Regions from separate parts of the Homo sapiens genome. Here all the other regions are linked to region 1. The links are contacts of gene promoters, found by promoter capture Hi-C in blood cells and fetal thymus (Javierre and others, 2016). All regions are on one chromosome and are shown on one strand. The core of a region is centred on a gene start or on the middle of the fragment in contact, and the rest is flanking DNA. Distances in the headings are between cores, read along the strand shown.

The links. Contacts are between HindIII fragments. The CHiCAGO score rates a contact against its expected background, and 5 or more counts as called.
Region 2: a fragment that was not itself captured here is called in contact with the fragment with the promoter of CRYBB2 in region 1 in 1 of 17 cell types (M2 macrophages); the score reaches 7.8 in M2 macrophages.
Region 3: a contact is called between a fragment that was not itself captured here and the fragment with the promoter of CRYBB2 in region 1, in 1 of 17 cell types (M2 macrophages). The highest score is 5.3, in M2 macrophages.

The regions. Positions count from the first base shown.
Region 1 is chr22:25,217,712-25,222,277 of GRCh38, forward strand. CRYBB2 (crystallin beta B2) reads left to right here and starts at 1,928. Exons shown (of 6, transcript NM_000496.3): 1 at 1,928-1,955; 2 at 3,693-3,772. The coding sequence starts at 3,719. The HindIII fragment of the contact is 9,715 bases long and covers 1-4,566 here.
Region 2 is chr22:26,337,508-26,342,073 of GRCh38, forward strand. It overlaps SEZ6L (seizure related 6 homolog like), which reads left to right. Exons shown (of 17, transcript NM_021115.5): 10 at 2,929-3,125. Among named protein-coding and RNA genes, the nearest start is that of ASPHD2, 89 kb to the right of the region's middle. The HindIII fragment of the contact is 3,843 bases long and covers 724-4,566 here.
Region 3 is chr22:26,315,574-26,320,139 of GRCh38, forward strand. All of the region lies in intron 9 of SEZ6L (seizure related 6 homolog like), which reads left to right. Among named protein-coding and RNA genes, the nearest start is that of SEZ6L-AS1, 71 kb to the left of the region's middle. The HindIII fragment of the contact is 501 bases long and covers 1,598-2,098 here.

The DNA of each region.
Region 1 (4,566 bases), core at 678-3,177:
GGTGCTTATCTTCTCATTGGAAAGACAGAAAATAAATGAGTAACAGAATGTTGGGTAGTGATGAGTGCTGCAAAAGGAAAAGCCCAGCTAGGGGGCTGGGGCATGTGTGTGTAGTGTGTGTGCATGCGTGTGCATGCATATGTGCATTAAGAAAATGAGAGACAGGGGAAAGCAGGTATACTTGACCCAGTCTCCAAGCCTCAGATTGGATCAAGACACAGCCTGGGCTGCAAGGAAGGTGTGTGCACTAAAGAAACATGAGTAAAGGCCGGGCGCGGTGGCTCACGCCTGTAATCCCAGCACTTTGGGAGGCCGAGACGGGCGGATAATGAGGTCAGGAGATCGAGACCATCCTGGCTAACACAGTGAAACACCGTCTCTACTAAAAATACAAAAAATTAGCCGGGCGTGTTGGCGGGCGCCTGTAGTCCCAGCTACTAGGGAGGCTGAAGGAGGAGAATGGTGTGAACACGGGAGGCAGAGCTTGCAGTGAGCTGAGATCGTGCCACTGCACTCCAGCCTGGGCGACAGAGCGAGACTCCATCTCAAAAAAAAAAAAAATAGAAAAGAAATGTGAGTAAAGGCTGGGCACCCATGTGGCAGCGATGGGGCCAGTGGTAGGGATCTAAGAGCAACTCACTCTAGGACAGTGGTTAAGAAACAGGCCGGGTGCAGTGGCTCATGCCTGGAATCCCAGCACTTTAGGAGGCCAAGGTGGATGGATTGCCTGAGCTCAGGAGTTTGAGACCACCCTGGGCAACATGTCAAAACCCTGTCTCTAACAAGATACAGCAAAAAAAAGAATTTAGCTGGACCTGGTGGCGCACACCTGTAGTCCCAGCTACTGGTGAGGCTGAGGCAGGAGAATCGCTTGAACCTGGGAGGCAGAGGTTGCAGTGAGCCGAGATCACACCACTGCACTCCAGCCTGGGTGACAGAGTGAGATTCCATCTCAAAAGAAAGAAAGAGAAAGAAAGAAAGAGAGAGAGAGAGGGGGAGAGAGAGAGAGAGAGAGAGAGAGAGGGGAGAGAGAGAGAGAGAGAGAGAGAGAGAGAGAGAGAGAGAGAGAAGAAAGAAAGAAAGAAAGAAAGAAAGAAAGAAAGAAAGAAAGAAAGAAAGAAAGAAAGAGAAAGAAAGAAAGAAAGAAAAGAAAGAGAAACAGCCAGGGGCCTTGAGAATAAAATGCACTCTCCATAATTGGCCTCCCTGGCCCTGCAACATCAGGCCCTGCCCACCTTGGCCACCTGGCACAGGCCCTATTTGTCACATGTCATGCTTTAGCTTTGTTAACCTGTTTTCAGGTCTTCTTGAAATACACCATGCTGGTTCCTTGTATATGGACCCTTTCTGCTTGGAACTGTCCCCCCACCCTGTTCCCAGGCTTCCTCTTCTCCATCCCTGAGGGATGCGCTACCTCCCAGGAGCTTTTCTGAATGGCCTGGGCTGGCGTAGGTCCTCTTCCTGACACTCCCCTGGAACAGAGATTGTCACCAAGTGGATGCCCAACAAATATTTGTTGAATGAATAAATGGGTAGATGAATGAAGCCCAGACTCTGCCAAACCACCCTTCTTTACTTGTTCTTCCCCAGGCCCACTGAGATGTTCCTCTGTCTGCCATGCCTCACGGCCTGACTGACCGTACCAGTGAACCCAGCGTACCCCTGGCCCTGGCAGCCGGACGGCTGATGCATGCAAAGCGGGCATCTCCTTGCCCAGCCGCCTGACCGCCCTGGCGCGGCCGAATCTGAAAGCTAATGACATTATTGTGCAGAGACACAATGTCTGTGGGCATTTGCTGACCCGAGCTTTGGTGAGAGCTTAATCCAGCATTCTCACCCTGCTTTTCGCAGGAGCACAGCGGTCACTCATCTTGGCACCGGCACTTCTGGGGAAGGTATAAATGCCACCTCCCGCTGGCCGAGCTTCACGGCACTCGCAGGGGCTGGTGTCACTGGTAAGATTGCCTCTCTTGCTTGTCTTCCCTTCTTTCTCTCATCCTCACCCCTGTCCGCAAGCATGGGAGCACCCAGATTCTGACAAGTGACTTTGGGCAGAGACTTCAATGCTGTTAGCCTCAGTTTTCTTTTCTGGTAACTGGGAAGGGGGTTAAAAAGCCTTCTTTATTGTAAGGATTCAAGAGAAGTTAGGGGATCATCCAGCACAGTGCCTGGCACACAGTGGGCATTGGGGCAATGTTCTTTATTATTAATATTAAACAGACTATCAGCATCCTTGTTTCGCCAGTCGCTGAGGAGGAGAATGTAACTGAGGGTTTTGCAAGAATCAAACCAGTGACAGTTCAGCATTGTTTCTAGGTGGGTGAGTCAGTTTTCCTCCACATCTGCAATTAGGGGGCACCCACTCTGTGCCTAGCCTCTGGGAGTGCTAGGGGATAGGATGCAGCCACAGGTATGTGACAGGTCCCAGCAACAGGTGATTTCAATGCCACTAAAGCATGGTAGAAATGACTCTAATAATGCCACAATTGCTGCCATTTGCTGCATGCTGAGTGTGTTCTGGGACCACGGCCAAGTGCTTCCGGTTTTATACATTACATAATTGAATCCTCACAACCTGTTCACAGGTATTATTAGACATCATTACTGTCCCCATTTTATAGAACAGGAAGTTGAGGCATAGGGAGAGGATGAGACCTGCCCAGAGTCTCAATTCTGGCAGGCAGCAGAGACTGCTCCTGAACTGGACCAACTGAGCTTCTTCAGTCTGTGAACACTCAGGACTGGGAAGTGATATGGCAGGACCTCAGGCACTCTGACAAGCCCAGAGGGCTGGTTTCTTGCGGGAGAGCAGTAGATTTGGCTGCCAAGGTGCTTAACTGCATTTCTTCCTCCTGGGAAACATCCAGTATTGGCCTTTCATGTGGAAGGGGCTTCTGGAAGCTGGCGTTATCTCTGAAGAGGGAGGCCAGGCTTCCTCTCTTACCCCTGGGGAAACACAGCCTGGTTTGACCACCCCTTCTGCAGGAAGGGGGAAGAGGCTGACAATTTTCCAGGCTTTTCTGATGTTCTCACTAGCTAAGGCAGGTCTACCCTGCTGCCTGCCACAGTGCCTGGATTTCTACCGTCGCACCCATTTCTTCTCTTTCTTGTAATGTGGGTTCTGTATCAGATGATTTCACTAATGGGGGAGTAAAACCAGTGGCAGAGAAGAGAAATCTAGGTACCAGGATGGGGAGAGGAGTCCCAGGGAGAGGGTGGGAGAAGGAGCAGGGGAACAGGGAACTTTGTGAGTTCCTAAACTGGGCACCACCACACCACCAAATACAGCCAATGCATAGGTTTTGTTTGTTCCACACAATTTTATTTAAGAAATTACTGCATAAAGGCAGAAGTTCTGGGATTGACCATTCTATATTCTGTGTGGTATCCATTGTCTGGGGTTGAGTGTTGGGAACCCACTTTGGACCTCATTTAAGCTCTAGTTTATTACTGCTCTCTTTCTTTGAGTAGACCTCGTTTTTCCCTCCTCCTGCAGCTGGCCTGGATAGAAATAAATGAAGCTAAGGACAGAAGTTGAAGTAGCTGCTTACGGACCCCACAGCTCTGGGACAGTCTGAAACCAGGAGAAAAAGAGAATGTTTGGGGCCAGAGGGGAGTGGTCTCAAGGCCCCACAGAGTGAAAAAGCCAGTGGCCCCTCCAGGTCCTCACTGCTGCTTCCCATGTCTTCCAGGTCATTCCTGCACAGGACAGTCCACCATGGCCTCAGATCACCAGACCCAGGCGGGCAAGCCACAGTCCCTCAACCCCAAGGTGGGTACCTCTCAGAGGAGGGGGCATGCAATGCTCCTCCCCCAGACTTAGTTGCCCTTCTGTAAAATGGGCTTGGCATCTTTCTTCATGGGTACCCCCTCTCGACCCCTGCCCCTCTCTGGGACTCAGTCTCCTCTACCCACACAGTTGGAGCTGATACTGAAAGTCCCTCCCCAGCCCATAGCTGGCATGCTGGGATTCCCAGTACCAGCCTCTGGCTTTGGAGACTTCAGTTTCTCTCTCCCTTACCTGTTTTGCCACACCCTATTGTCTACAGGGCTCCCTGAAACTGGAGCAGACCCTCATTCTCAGTCAGAGATGGGATTAGTAGATGGAAGGTGGGTGTGAGTCCTGGCTCTGCACCTGCTGTGTGATCCGGGCCAATTATTTGATCCCTCTGAGCCTCAGTTCCATCTCTATAAAAGGAGGAGTCAGATTTATTGCACAGGGAAGTTGTGAGAGCCAAAGAAACCAGGCTCAGCCTAACACCCGGCCTGGGGTGCGCATCCACCTAACACCAGCAAATAATGCCGCCTTTGATTTCTCATCCACCTGTCCACCCAAGGGCGGCAGGATCTTATCCCAACGTCAGAGGCTTGTCACACCCAGTCTGCCCTCAAACCTCTATCTAGGCACGGCCACCTGACTGCCCTCCTGTGCCTCCCTGCTTTGGTAGCCCCGGGCACAGGTTCCTTCAGGAATGGCCCCTTTGTCTGACTCAGTGCCTCCTGGGCCAGGGAAGCCTGAGCAGATACAGCCCCTCACCTGCTCACCCCAATCTGTCCCTTTTAGGG
Region 2 (4,566 bases), core at 1,395-3,894, 1.1 Mb after region 1:
TAAAGAGGCCCTCCCCTACTACAGGTCCAAAGCTGACATCAGTCCCACTATTTTTGCTGTCAAGTAGACTCTCTGGGAGGCTCTTTCATACCTTAGCATTTATTGAGCACCTACTGTGTGCAAGAACAAGTGGCAACTCCAGAATTTCAATACAGCAGGGGTTTAGGGGCTTCAATCTGGTTAAAAACTGTCAGGGGGGTAGGAGGAGTCTGGGGATTTTGTCTTGAAGACATGTGTGCAAAGCAAGCAGGTAGCTTTTATTTGAAGATGTTTTGGGAGTAGCATAGGGGAAACTGGTGAAAATTATGGCGGCAATCAAAATCTTCCTAAGCCACCCCTTGGAGCAACTTTACATGAGGAACTACGAGAGGTATGGTGGAAGGTATTGGGGTGAATAAAATACAATCCCTGCCCTCCCAGAAGCAAACTTTCAATACCTTTCTTTGTGTTTCTGTTGTTTTGTTCTGACCACCTGAAACACCAACATGGGTAGTTGCCACCTCACCTCCCAACTCCCGGACTAGCAGCAAACACCACTGTTGGCCATTGGATGAAGCTATCAGCAGGGAGGGCCACTGTCAGTCTGCATCAGTTTCAGGAACTCTGCTCAGGGCCATTTCCCAGAACACCTCTCCTCTGGCATTGAATTGCTCAGTCATACAGTTCCCGTATAAAACCCTTCAGTGTCTCCCCGTCTCCTGCAAGATGATGTCCAAAAGTTGAAGCTTGGCTCTTTAAGCCCTTCATGATCTAATCCCTGCAGAACTCTGCAGGCTTCTATGCCTATCCCCATACCCCAGGCACACTGACCACTGGAAAAATTCTTTCAGGAACCATGGTCTTACTCCTTTCTTCCCTCTGCCTTCTCCCCATCATTCATTGTTTTCTTTTGTTTTGTTTTGTTTTGTGAGATGAGTTCTTGCTCTATTGCCCAGGCTGGAGTACAGTGGCACAATCATAGCTCACTGTAGCCTCAAACTTCTGGGCTCAAGCAATCCTCCTGCCTCAGCCTCCTGAGAAGCTAGGACTACAGAGGTGCACCACCACACCAAAAAAAAAAAATTTTTTTTGAGACAGGGTCTCGCTTCTTTGCCCAGGCTGGAGTGCAGTGGCACAATCTCAGCTCACTTCAACCTCCACCTCCCAGGTTCAAGCAATTCTCCTGCCTCAGCCTCCCGAGTAGCTGGAACTACAGGCATCTGCCACCACGCCCAGCTAATTTCTTTTTTTAGTAGAGACGGGGTTTCACCATGTTGGCCAGAATGGTTTCGATTTCTTGACCTCGTGATCCTCCTGCCTCGGCCTCCCAAAGTGCTGGGATTATAGGCGTGAGCCACCACGCCCGGACTTTTTTTTTTTCTTTTTTTTTTTTTTTTTGTAGAGACAGGGTCTCTCTTTGTTGCCCAGAATGGTCTTGAACTCCTGGCCTCAAGCAATCCTCCCACCTCAGCCTCCAAAAGTGCTGGGATTACAGGTGTAAGCCACTGCACCTGGACTCCCTACTCTGTGTTTATCTGCCTCGAGGTCTCCTACTCTTTCTTGAGGTTTCAGAGCAAGAAGCATCACCTACTGCAGGAATGCTTCCATGATGCCCCTAATCTGAGTTTGTCCTTACTTTCTCTGTCCTTACTTTGGTTATAACTCCTGCCACAATCCCTGGCTTACAAATCTAAATAGATCACTACTCTGTGACCCTTCTGAGCTCAGCACAGTGCCTGGCTCATAGTAGATGCTCAAAAAAACAAACAAAAAAGAACATTAAGGAGAAGGAGACAAGAAAAGGAGAAAGACATGAGAGAGAAAGAAGACAGAGAGAGGGAAAGAAGAAAGGAAAGAAAGAAATGTGAGTTTGTATCTGTCCATGATTGATGAAGCCAAAGGTGAATTATCTGGCATTCTTTCAATTAGAGATCAATTTTATCTAGCATGTCTGAGATGGCACATGTTTCTGTGGTATAGTGAAGTGATTTCTGGATTATTAACTATCCACTGTGGTTTAATTATTTAGTGTCAAGGTACTTTCTTGCATTGGAGTCTTTGAAAATGTGTCATCCTTTAACAGTATGAATGGTGACAGGTTTGAGCATATCTCATAAGTAAGGTGCCTCCATCCCACCTCTGCCCTACCCCTTAAACATAATGGATCATTCAGTTGACTCTGAGGAATTTGCCCCGTGATAAATGGAAAGATCATTTCACCTTATATAAAAATGCAAGTTGTAATTAGCAAGCTGTCAGCATGTTCTGCACTGAAGAAGAATGAAAGATGCAGGTCATAGCCCCAGCCTGTAGCCTGGTGCCTAACACAGAGATGTCACCTAAGAAATGGTTGCCAATAATGGGAGTTTTGAAGGTGATTCTTCTTACAATGCAGCATTTGACTTTGCAATGAGTCCCATGCAGCCAAGACCATTGCATCAATGTGTCTTCAAAAACCCAACTGACGGCCGGGCACAGTGACTCACGCCTGTAATCCTAGCACATTGGGAGGCCGAGGTGGGCAGATTGCCTGAGCTCAGGATTTGGAGACCAGCCTGGGCAACACGGTGAAACCCCATCTCTACTAAATACAAAAAAAATTAGCCAGACATAGCAGCATGCACCTGTAGTCCCAGCTACTCGGGAGGCTGAGACAGGAGAATTGCTTGAACCTGGAAGGCAGAGATTGCAGCGAGCTGAGAGTGCCACTGCACTCTAGCCTGGGTGACAGAGTGAGACTCTGTCTCAAAAAAAAAATGACTTACAAATCTTTGTGTCACATTTGCAGTCTATGTCAATCTTACCCTCAGCTTGGGGTTAAGACACATAGCCTGGAGCCTGACACATACACACTTAACAAATTTTGTATTGCCTGAAAAAGTTAATCAAGGGTTTATTGAATGCCCATTCTCTATTTCACATGACTCTCCCTCTTCTCTGCCCTCCAAGCCTGAATCTGAGCAACAGTGACATCTTGACCATCTACGATGGCGACGAGGTCATGCCCCACATCTTGGGGCAGTACCTTGGGAACAGTGGCCCCCAGAAACTGTACTCCTCCACGCCAGACTTAACCATCCAGTTCCATTCGGACCCTGCTGGCCTCATCTTTGGAAAGGGCCAGGGATTTATCATGAACTACATAGGTAGGTGTCTCATCTGGTCAATTTATTTTTTCTTTGTGTTTAGATACAGGTTAAGGTGGTTTCCTCTAGGTTATTTGGCAGTTTTGTACTACAGCGATTTTTCATTGTATTGTATTGAAATGTACTCATTTCATTTTTAAAAGCCTGGGCTCTCTAGTCATGAGGACCAGGGTTTGAGCCCTAGCACGGTCATCGATGTCTGTGTGGCTTTGGGAAAGTTACTGAACCTCTCTGAGCCTTCTTTTTGTCATCTGTAAGATGGGCATAGTGATACCTATTCCACAAGGTTGATATCAGGATGTAGTAGACAATGCCTCATAACTTATGTTTCATGTGTGGTCAGCTGAGAACCTGTTGTCCCCATGTTTCATTTGTGGTCAGCTGAGATCTTACATCAACATACTTCCTAATTTCTTCCCAATTTGTGCAACTTCTCAAACATCGTCTTCACCTTCTTGCCCGAACTGAAGCTCAGCTCTCCTCTAAGGCCTCTTCTTTTCCTGTAGCCTCGTTGAACAAGGACAGCCTTCCTTTCGCACTTCTTGTACTTTAGGAGCTATAGATGCAAAAGATGTCTTTCCTCATCCTCAATGTGGCCTCCAAACCATGTCTCTCCTGCTCCTCCTAAAACAAACAAAACAAAAAAAAAACCTGCTATCAAATTCAAGCTAAGCTCACACACTCCTATGACCCCTCGTGTGCTTTCATCCAATCACACTCTTCCCTTCTCATTCCCCACCCTGTAACTCTCCCTCATTCATTACTAGCTCTACGACCCACCCCTTTTCAACCTTTAAACCCTGGAGGGTCCCAGGCTCCATCCTGGACTGTATCCTCTCTTCCAGCTAGACTCACGCCCTCCATGCCTTCATTAGTTCCCATGGATTTAAACAGTACCAATATCCGTTGACCGGTTCATACTTACAACCTTGACCTTAAACTCCAAATCCATCTATCCAACTCCCTGCCAACTCCTCCCTTGCCTCCATCCAGTAGACATCTCAGATTTAACATGGCCAAACAGAATGATTTCTTTTCCTACCCACCACCACCACTACCCAACAGCATCCCCTGCTATCTGCCAATCCTAGGAAATGAGACAACAACTCTCCTGGTTTCTCAGGCTGCTTCCTCCTTCCTTGCCCCCATATCCAATCCATCCTCTCAACTCCACTTTTCAATATGTCTCAAATCCAAACACATGTCCCCGTCTTTCTACGGCCACCACTCTAGTCCGAACTACCAACATTCCCAGATGTCAGAGGACTGGGACACCATGAAGTCCCACTGATTCCAGTCCCAGAAGAGACTTGCACTAACAGAGGAACTGGTCCAGCCCTGTCGTGTTCCAGCAGAAGAAACCCTGGACAAGCAAGGATGAAGGGTTGCTCATCGGGGCAGAGCCGAGCTCCAATCCATGCTTCCTCATCCCTAGCTCCAA
Region 3 (4,566 bases), core at 598-3,097, 1.1 Mb after region 1:
TTGGGGCCAGGCCAATCTAAGAAAGAATTCCACCTCCTTCCCATGTGACTTTGGGCTGGGCTCACCTGTTCTCGCCTCTCTCTGGACCTCAATTTTTCTCTCCTGTAATGGGGGTCTTGGAACATCAGTGCTTTGTGGCTGCTGGAGGCAGATTTTACGCGTTCCTAGCCCATTGCCTCACTCCTCAATAAAGCTCATCCTCATCTGGGCACGGTAGCTCACACCTGTAATCTCAACACTTTGGGAGGCTGAGGTAGGAGAATCACTTGGGGCCAGGAGTTCGAGACCAGCCTAGGCAACATAGTGAGACCCCATCTTTACAAACAATTAAAAAAACTAGCCAGGCATGGTGGCACCTGTAGTCCCAGCTACTTGGGAGGCTCAGGTGGGACAATTACTTGAGCCCTGGAGTTCCAGGCTGCAGTGAGCCATGATTGCACCACTACTTCAGCCTGGGCAACAGAGTAAGACTCTGTCTCAAAAAAAAATAAAAATTCAAATTGAATTAAATAGACCTCATCCTCTTCCCCCCATTCCTTTCTCTCTGACTTCTAGAGTCTGGAATAAGATGCTTATTCATTCATTCCAACCGAACTGTTTGAGTGTCTACTATCAACCAAGCACAATTTTATGTGCTGGAAAGGTTCTAATGGTTGTTCCTTCAGTGGTAAAATTCATATTGGAAAGAATGGAATGGATTGTCTCTCTTAACTCTAGGGAAAAAATTATTGTGTACCTACCGTGTGCCAGCAGTAGGCTTAGCACTGAAGATACAGTTGTGAGAAAAACAGGGCAGTCCTCACCCTGCATGCCTAGCAGGTGAGGCAGGTAAGAAAGTAAATGCAGTGTGAAAGGAGCAGTGACAGGCAGGTGAGGGCACCTGAGTGAAATCAGGAGGGCTTCCAGGAGGAAGTAGCTTCTATAATAGCATGAAAGAGAAGGTAGGCAGGTGACGAGGGGAAAAGAAGAATGTCCTGGCCAGGCATGGTGGCTCAGGCTTGTAATCCCAGCACTTTGGGAGGCTGAGGTGGGTGGATCATTTGAGGTCAGGAGTTCAAGACCAGCCCAGCCAACATGGTGAAACACCGCCTCTACTAAAAATACAAAAATTAGCCAGGCGTGGTGGTGGGTGCCTGTAATCTCAGCTATTTGGGAGGCTGAGGCAAGAGAATCACCTGAACCCGGGAGGTGGAGATTGCAGTAAGCCAAGATCATGCCTCTACACTTAAGCCTGGGTGACAGAGTGAGACTCTGAAAAAAGAAAGAAAGAAAAGAAAGAGAGAGAGAGAAAGAAGAAGGAAAGAAAGAAAGAAAGAAAGAGAAAGAAAGAAGAAAGAAAGAAAGAAAGAAAAAGAAAGAAAGAAAAGAAAGAAAGGAAGAAAGAAGGAGGGAGGGAGGGAGGACAGGACAGGAAAGGAAGAAGAATGTCCTACCTACATGATGAGAACATCTGCAAAACATCTACAAAGCCTGGAAATGAAAGAGTGTGACCCACTTAATGACATAAAGTTTAATGTGGCTGGAGCAAAGCATGGCAGGTGGGTAGAGACTACAGAGGGAATGGATCAAAGGGAAGCTCTGGGGTCTTCTTAGCTGAAGCTTCACATAGAAAACTTTATTCTAAGGCTGCATCCTTTAGGAAGCCTTCTGTGTCGCCCCCTTGTCCTTGTCCATAAAAATAAATTTATGGTTCCAGCTTATGAATTCCTTCCCCCAGAAGTTACCAGGAAAACTACCTGTCTTCAGCCAAGAGAAGGTACGACCTACTCCTGAGTTCTTGGCTTCTCTGGCAGAAGATCCCACCCAGCCCCAGGCCCCATGAAGTCATCTATAATCCCCTCTCTTCTGCTTGGCTTGCCTCTTCTGGCCTCACAGGGAGCCTCCCAGATGGGTGGTTTTGCTTAAATAAGACGGGCCCACATCTCCCTTTGGTGCCAGAGGTCTAGAGGAGGAAACAAGAAAATGGGAATCTTTACTTTCATCATCTCTAGGCATCAAATATTCAATTAACCTTCAGCCTGACACCAGATTGGGTTTTATTTCTACCACTAAGCATGCATGCAATGGAGCAGCCGATCCGGGAACCTCATGCAATTAAAGCTTCCCCAAAGCCAAGCCACTGGCATTAGCATCAGGAAGGGAGCCCTTGCAGCGGGGGCAGGCTTTCTCTCTTCTGAACATTTTCACAATCGTAGATTGAGCATTGACCAGGAGAGAGGGCCCTCAGTTTCCTTCCTCCCTGCCCTGATACTCCATGCCCTCAGCAGCCCTGGACCCAGCACCTAGCATCTCTGGGCCTCAGATTCCTCCTCTGCAAGATGATGGGCTACCTTGAATCAAGGGTAGTTGCAAATCCAAAATCATGAAGGGCCAGGCAACACAAATACCGGAATTAGAGCTGTTGTGAGATTATATGGAGGGGAGGGGTCTGCGATGAATTAGGAAGTACATACCCTATCTAAAATCATTTAAATTCAATTTCCATTTTATTTTATTTTATTTTATTTTATTTTATTTTTTGTGATAGAGTCTCACTGTCACCCAGGCTGGAGTGCAGTGGTGCCATCTCAGCTCACTGCAACCTCCGATTCCTGGGTTCAAGCGATTCTCCTGCCTCAGCCTCATGAGTAGTTGGGATTGCAGGCGTGTGCCACCACACCCAGCTAATTTTTGTATTTTTAATAGAGATGGGGTTTCACCATGTTGGCCAGGCTAGTCTCAAACTCTTGACCTCAAGTGATCTGCCTGCCTCAGCCTCCCAAAGTGGTGGGATTACAGGTGTGAGCCACTGCCCCGGGCCATAATTTCAATTTTTAAAAATAGCATCCCCTCCTCCAAAAAAAAAAAAGTGCCTACTGGCTGAATCCAAACTGAGGACCACCAGTTTGCAACCCTTGCAAATGATTAAGGTGATTGAGGGTTTAAGCTCCCTTCTCATTGCAGCAATGAAGAAATTCATGTTTTTAAGCACTTACTATTTGTAAGGTCTTTACTAACATTAATTTTTACTTCATATAAGTTAAAAATAAATTGTATTATTTGTTCTTTGGATTAATCCCATGAAGTAGTTGCAACTATTACATTTAATTATATCCTCTTGCTTCCTCACCACTTCACTTGGATGTCTAAGAGGCATCTCAAATGAAATGTATTCAAAGACAAACTCCTGATTCTCCCTCCCTATATCTACTTATAGGGAGATATTTATTTATCTATTTATCTATTATACTTATTTTACCCCCATCTTTCTCATATGTGTAAGGTATGATCTATTCCATCAGTTGCTTGGGGGAAAGAATCAAACAACGACAAAACAGAAACCTTGGCGTTATTCTGGCCCAGTGGAGTGCTGGCTTTCTTAACAAGTTGGCGGCACAGTGGGCCACACCCTGATTTGTAGCATCTGTCAATTTCCACGGTGTAAATACTCCCACCATGACCCATTTTAATATACCAACATAATGACAACAGGCTCTCCAAATGCCTGGACCATTAGCTCTTACAAGCCCGTATGAGCCTGCCCCCAGCCCAGCACACTCACTGTGAACTGGACCTTTCTCTTTCTCCCACACCCTGTAGCCAAATCCTCAGGAAATTCCATTGCTTCTACTCAAAAGTCAAAGTCTTCCCAGAGTCCAAGCAGTTCTGACACCTCCACTGCCACCTGCAGGGTCCACGCCACCACTGCGTCTTCCCAGGGTTATTGCAACGGCCTTTGAGATATCCTTGTTCCCACTTCTGCCCCCTCTTTTTAACCAACACTCAGTGATCCTGTTACAACCGAAGTCATAGCACCCATGCTCTGCTCAAAGTTCTGCAATAGCTCCCTGTTTTATTTGGACTTAAAGCCAGTATTCTTACAAAAGGCCCTATGGGATCTAGCTCTGGTTACATCTCCAGCATCGCTTTATTCCTCTCTTCTCCTTTCTGTATGGTACATTTGACCATATTAGCCTTCTTGCCATTCCACACGCATACCTCAGGGCCTTTGCACTGCTGTCTCCCCTGCCATTGGGATGCTCTGCCCCAAATATCTGCAGAGCTTGCTCCCCATCTCTCCATCCTCTGACTTTGCTTCACTTCCATAGCCCTTGCCACCACCTAACACACTACGCATTGTGGTGTATCTTGAAGTATTTCAACTCCCACACCTCCACCTGGAATGTCACCTCCAGGAGAAGAGCAGGAGTTTATTTTTTGTCTTATTCACTGCCGTAACCCTAATATATAGACCAGTGCATGGCCCATAGTAGGTGCTTAATAAATAAAAGGCAAGGAAGTAAATGTAGCTTGTCAGGATCATACAGACATGAGGCTTCAAAGCGAGAATTTGAACCCAAATTTATGTTCAGCTGGCTATGATGCACGTGGAGGGAAAAAAGAGGGTCAGAAAAATATGGAAAGACCTTCTGGGGACATGGCCTCCATTTTTTAGTAAGTACAGGTTTATTACATGACAGGGAACCTGGTTGATAAGAAATAACATTTGGCTAAAAATTATCAGGTAAAGTATTAAATAATAGAAGTAGGAGGTCTCCCCAAGAGAATATTTTATAGGGTTATAGT